Linked DNA regions of Homo sapiens: region 1 is linked to region 2. The links are contacts of gene promoters, found by promoter capture Hi-C in human tissues and cell types (Jung and others, 2019). All regions are on one chromosome and are shown on one strand. Each heading gives the region's core, a stretch centred on a gene start or on the middle of the fragment in contact. The rest is flanking DNA. Distances are from core to core; before and after follow the strand shown. Region 1 overlaps PI15 (peptidase inhibitor 15). Region 2 holds the start of TMEM70 (transmembrane protein 70).

The links. The method cuts DNA at HindIII sites, captures the fragments that hold promoters and counts their contacts. A contact is called where the count stands out against the background at its distance.
Region 1: a fragment that was not itself captured here is called in contact with the fragment with the promoter of TMEM70 in region 2 in 1 of the 25 tissues and cell types used here (dorsolateral prefrontal cortex).

Annotation. Positions count from the first base shown.
Region 1 is chr8:74,849,419-74,852,642 of GRCh38, reverse strand. PI15 (peptidase inhibitor 15) reads right to left here. Exons shown (of 6, transcript NM_015886.5): 6 at 1-3,224. Among named protein-coding and RNA genes, the nearest start is that of PI15, 26 kb to the right of the region's middle. The HindIII fragment of the contact is 3,820 bases long and covers 1-3,224 here.
Region 2 is chr8:73,974,931-73,977,827 of GRCh38, reverse strand. TMEM70 (transmembrane protein 70) reads right to left here and starts at 1,633. Exons shown (of 3, transcript NM_017866.6): 1 at 1,337-1,633. The coding sequence starts at 1,546. RefSeq lists silencers at 1,285-1,334, 1,500-1,715, 1,765-1,844. The HindIII fragment of the contact is 11,340 bases long and covers 1-2,897 here.

The DNA of each region.
Region 1 (3,224 bases), core at 597-3,096, 870 kb before region 2:
TGTGTAAATTGAACTTACGCCAGTGTTTGGTCAACTCTGTGCTAAAGCTGCATGGAACTTTCAAATGAATGTTTTCATAAACTTTTTAAATGAATGTTATGGCGCTGCCAAATGAAATTTGTAGGGCAACTCTGCTGCGTGATGGGCCACAGAAGGGATGATACTTAGACAACTGAACAGAAGCAATAACAATAATAACAATAATGGCTTCATCCACATTTTTTGAGCAAACTTATCTGTCATAACCAGAAACATTAAGACTGTGTCTACACAACTCACAGATAATTCTATAATGAAATCCATCAGTTTAATTCTAAAATTATAATTTTTCAGTCTTTTGATGATATGGAAGCCCCAAAACCTATATTGTGAGAATATTAAAATTTTTCTACTGGTCATATAAAAAAATTAACACCACAGAGAGGATCGATGATGTGGAATATGTATGCCAATTACTTTTTTTTTGAATGACACCTTTCCACATGAAAACCTTAATACTGACAATTTAAAGCTGCTTTTATGAAATAGCTTATACCCAGACCATTTCTGCCTCTGGCAATTACAGTAAGAAATAGCTATCCTAGCACCATTGTTGCATGCTGTGAAAAATATGGCAGGCTGTGTTGATACCAGCAAACTTTCATTTGCTTTAGCCTGGAAAATAAAATATTTTACATGGCCACTTTATATTATTAACTTTAAAAAATAGAGTTAGAATAACAAATATACCCGTTATATTTTCAGCTGAGTTGTTAAATTATAAATAAACTTGTAGTTTTTGTCATGGTTTGGAAAGGACTATTGCCTAAGTGTGTAAACCCTGGTCTTAATCTGATATATTTGATGATTTATCTGGATTTTTGATATAATCACAGCTTTATATTTAAGACATTTTTGTCTTAAGCATGGAAAGGTGGGATTTCTGTAAATTGTTGCCATTTTTGGCTTCTTAGTTAATTCTAAAAATCCATTCATATAAGCATTTATTAAACATTTATTATGTTACAGCCACCATTTAAGAAGCTGGGATAAATACAAAGAATTAAACAGAGTTCCTGCCAAAGAGGGGCTCATGAAAAATTTAATTTAATCTCAAATAAGTGTTTTATATTATTAATGATAATTTTAATATTCATAAATTTTTATTAATCTGGTAAATTTACCTTCATAAGAACCCCTGTGAAATATGTAGCAAATATTATTCTTCCTTAGAACTGAAAAGTGAACTCACAGAAGCAATTCAGCAACAAAATTGGAACTTAGTGTAGCCATCTTCTGTTTAATAGTACTTATTGCTGTTCCTGTAGAATGAATATAGTAAAATTGAAGAAGGAAAAACTTTCTAGATAAATCAAGCCAATATTCCATGAATAAGCTTCCCTTTCAATTGTTTAGATATATTAGAAAAAAGTTGGATTAAGACCTAAATAATGTAATTACTTCTATTCTCCATTTTAATCTCCAAAAATATTTATTTTTAGTAGTGTCTACATATGTGCCCACAAAGGCAGAGTAGTATGATATCAAAGCATTTGGTCACCATATTCAATTTATAAGGATAATTGGGCTAGTCATTCATTAACAAGTAGACTCAATCTCCAGATGGTGAGTTTCTTTACCATTGAATGGATTTAACAATCTGTCATCTTTCAAAGTATCCAAATGTGTACAAGAAACTGCAAACGTGTATGGAATTTTAAACAAGTAGCTTCCTTCTGTAATTTGCACTCTGGAACTAACCATATTTAATTGTTCTATAATTCTACGGGAGCATTACACAACCTGAATAAAACACACACACATGTACTTGAAATGCAGTATGTTAAATGTCTGGACTAAGATGTTGTATTCTCCTCTCTGAAAGAGATTTCATGATAGGAAAATGTTGCATTTCCAAACTACATGAGTAAAATTTTCATAGTGACTTTGAATGGATTTCCATAATCAAACTCAATGAAGAACTGAAAATGTTTCTTCTACAGAAACACAGAAATAAAGTTGGTAACTAGCCCTTAGAAAAGCATCTGAAGAAGGCTACTTTAACAAAATCATGACTGTGTGTGGTGTGCACGAAGGATCTTTCATACAATACTCAAAGACCCAAGATGATAAGTAGATTGATTCAATGACAGACTAAACAACAAAGAGATAGAGGTGCCCTCAGCACCTCCACATCTCTTTTTGGAATCCTTTGTCTCCTGCTGAGAGGCCTCAAGATGTACTAGACTCTAAGGATAGCCCATTCTGAAGCTCTCCATCTGGTAGTTAGGCGCAATTACACTTTTCATACCTGTCCACTAAATTTTATTTCTCTTAGACTTCATTGGTTTTCTGAGGGTCTTACTTTCTGTTTTCCAAAGTCACAGCTGTACAATCTGCTCCAGAAATCTTGGCATTTGTTAATTCTTTCCTTCCCCTTCTCATTCCAAGCACTGTAACTAAATTCCCATGAGAAGCAGAAGCTTTATGTATATATTGCACAGCATGGCTTATTACTTGCTCCACCTACAGGTAAATACTGCTGTGTCTGCTTCCTTCAAAAATAATTTTATAGCAAAATCACTAGTCTGCATTATTTCCTGAATACTTTTGTGAGCTTCTTGAGGGCGGGAACCATGTCTAATTATCTCTGCATTATTAGAATATAACTAGCAGAGTGCCTTGCATGTAGTAAGCACTCAACTCATGACGACTGAATGAATAAAATGAGACTAAGCGGAAGGCATGATTTGAGAACTTATATAAGTTGGCATTATCCTTTGGTGGACTCAAATAAGAAAAAATATCTCCAGGGTGAAATTCGTGGTTGCTTAATTGAATTATTATTTCCAGATATCACTAAGTGTTATTTTACAAATTATCATTTCATGGGTATTATAGAAATGTGTGTTAAGAAGTCCCATCACCTCGTATATAATTGAGAATAGTTTTTTAAAAATTTCCCTCAAGTTGACTACTGAATCATATTATCATCTACATGTTACATCACATATTATATGTTTGTGTGCATATATAAATCCATACACATACATATGTATATGTATACATACACACACTTACAGGTCAAATATATATTTACTCCTTAGGAACATAATGATATAATTCCTTTGGAATGTAAGTTTTAGGATTGGATGCATCAACTATGTCATCATTACATATACAATATCTTAATTTAGGCTTAGAGGTCAGAAAATAGAAATTGATGTTTCAAATATTTCAAAGGA
Region 2 (2,897 bases), core at 384-2,883:
CAACACCTTTTCAAAAAATAAATACATTTAGCTGGTGTAATGGAACACGTCTATAGCCCCAGCTACTGGGGAGGCTGAGGTGGATCACTTGAGCCCAGGAGTTTAAGGCCAGCCTGGGCAACATGGCAAGACCCCATCTCTAAGAAATAAAATTTAATTTTACTAAAATAATTTAAGTAAAATACTCCGCAAACTCACATTATATTTAAAGTCCAGGCCTTTTACAAATACTGCTAAAATATTTATATGATAGTATTAAAGAGATCAAATCTTTCTCTAAAGACCTTGTAAATACCGTGTATCCCCTGGTCCTCTTATTTCTTGACAAGAAATAAAATTTGGCTGGGCACAGCGGCTCACGCCTGTAATCCCAACCCTTTGACAGGCCGAGGCAGGAGGATGATTTGAGGTCAGGAGTTTAAGACGAGCCTGGCCAACACGGTGAAACCCCGTCTCTACTAAAAATACAAAAAAAAAATCAGCCGGGGTGTGGTGGAGCGCGCCTGTAATCCCAACTACTGGGGAGGCTGAGGCAGGAGAATCGCTTGAACCCGGAAGGCGGAGGTTGCAGTGAGCCAAGATCACGTCACTGCACTCCAACCAGGGTGACAGAGCGAGACTTCACCTCCAAAAAAAAAGAAATAAAATTTACTTGAAATCCTACATCAAATTTCAAGGGAACAGAAGCGTTCCCCATACATCTGAAAATGAGTTTCACAGTGTATACACTTCAAAATGTAAAAGGCATGCCTAATTCCTCAATGCTGAAATGTAATTAGATTCCAATTTCCATTTTAAGCATTTCTTCCAAGTTTTAACCAGGTTTGCCAATCCTGATATTTTACAGAGTAGAATTAGAAGACAATTTATTCAGATCAAAATAAAAGAATTAACATCTGCATCCCCCTTTTCCCAGGGACCAAAGTAATTCTTAAAAGTACAGCCACCTCATAAAAGTAGAACAAGCTCAAAGTCAGGTTAACCTGGCTCTTTCGGTTCTATTTCCAGGTGCTGCATCCAATTTTTTGCAAATTAACACTTCTAAGCTTCTACTCAAGGGCAGAAAAGGAACTACATATAGTTGTCACCACAAACCCTCTGGATTTGGAACTACCATAAAAGTAAGCACTTTCCAGCCGTTCTCCTGGACTCGCGGAGGCTGAGGACCCCGGGGCCCTCGGCCTGCTACTTCTGCAAGCCCCGCAGAGGGGGCTCCTCCCGCGCTCCAGCCACGGACACCTGGGAGAGGTCGCGAAGAGCCGCTGGGGCTCCCCAGGCCCGACACGACGCCCGCCCTCCCCGCCTCACTTGGGACACCAGACCTCGGACGCCCTACCTGCGCTCGACCCGGACGCCGGAGAAGGCGCGCGGCTCCCGAAGGCCCCGTACTCCAGCCGGCTACCGGCCCCGAAGGCCCGCTGCTGGAGGACGCCCGGGAGACAGAGGCCCGGGGACCTCGGAGCGCGGCGGCCGCACACAATGCAGTCCTCCTTCCGCAGAGAGGCAGTTCGACCGCCCACGGGCTGCCCAACGCCAGAAACAGCATCACGCGGGTGACGAGCGGCTGCGGACGCCCCAGCTGCACGAGTCCACGACTGCGAGACACGGCTTCCCACCCGACTGCCGCACAAGTGGCGCATGCCCAGCCCGGGACGCCTGACTGGCAGCTGGGCTGCCTGCGCGTGCGCAGAATCTGCCGCCCGCCTGCCGCCCGCCTGCCGCCCGCCTGCCGCCCGCCTGCCGCCCGCCTGCCGCCCGCCTGCCGCCCGCCTGCCGCCTTCCCGGCCGCGCGCGTTATCCGCCAGCTGAGCTGGGAGCCCGCCGCTCTGTCCTTGGCTCAGCGGCTCCTCCTTCCTAGAATTTTACCTTCTTTATAACAGTGTGGAGGGGCAGAGGGCTGTACGAGAATGACAATGCCCAGAAGCCAGGGTTAAATATTTTTTTTTCTCGTGGACGACATCACTAAAAACTGTTTCCTTTGCGGAAAATGATTCTAGCCTGTTGGCACAGAAGAAAGAATATACGATTTGAACAAAAATGAGTGATAACTTAATTGAATCATCGGGTTGGAGGAAAATAAATGGAATTGTTCATGTAATATTGATAGGTGTTACCAGATTTGTCTTCGGAAATCATTCACATCCATATACACATTGATTCATTACTTGTTAAAGAGGTACTGAATCTATTGCCAGGACTGAGCTAGGAGCAGAGGATACAAAATACTAGATTAAACTGGGAATCCACAGTGCTTAAACAGTGGAGGAAAATACCTGAAAATTGGCTAGAATATAATGTAATACAATTGAGACACCGCAATATACAAAATGTGGCTGGCCGTGGTGGCTTACACCTGTAATCCCAGCGCTTTGGGAGGTTTAGGCAGGAAGATCTCTTGAGGCCAGGAGTTTGAGACCAGCCTGAGCAATACAGGGAGACCCCGTCTCTACAAAAAAAAAAAAAAAAAAAAAACCTAAAACAAAAATAAGCCACACATGGTAAGTGTGTGCCTGTGGTCCCAGCTACCCAGGAGGCTGACATGGTAGGATTGCTTGAGCCCAAAGTCGAGGCTTCAGTGAGCCAAGACCACACTACTGCACTCCAGCCTGGACCACAAAGTGACACCGTGTCTCAAAAAAAAGAACAAACAAATGCCACAGAAGTACAAAGAAGAACATGATTAATTTTGCCTCAGAATGTCTTCAGACTGGCTTCACATTTAGCTCAGTCTTGAAGGATGAGCATCTTAGTAATAGAAACACACTTTTGTTTACCACTGCAGAACTATACATGTTTTTGATTTGACATGTTATTTGCACCGGAGAGGAACAAATTCATAGTCTAAAATAATGTGTGGCCAGGGGCGGGAGCTCACGCCTGCAATTCCAATACTACGT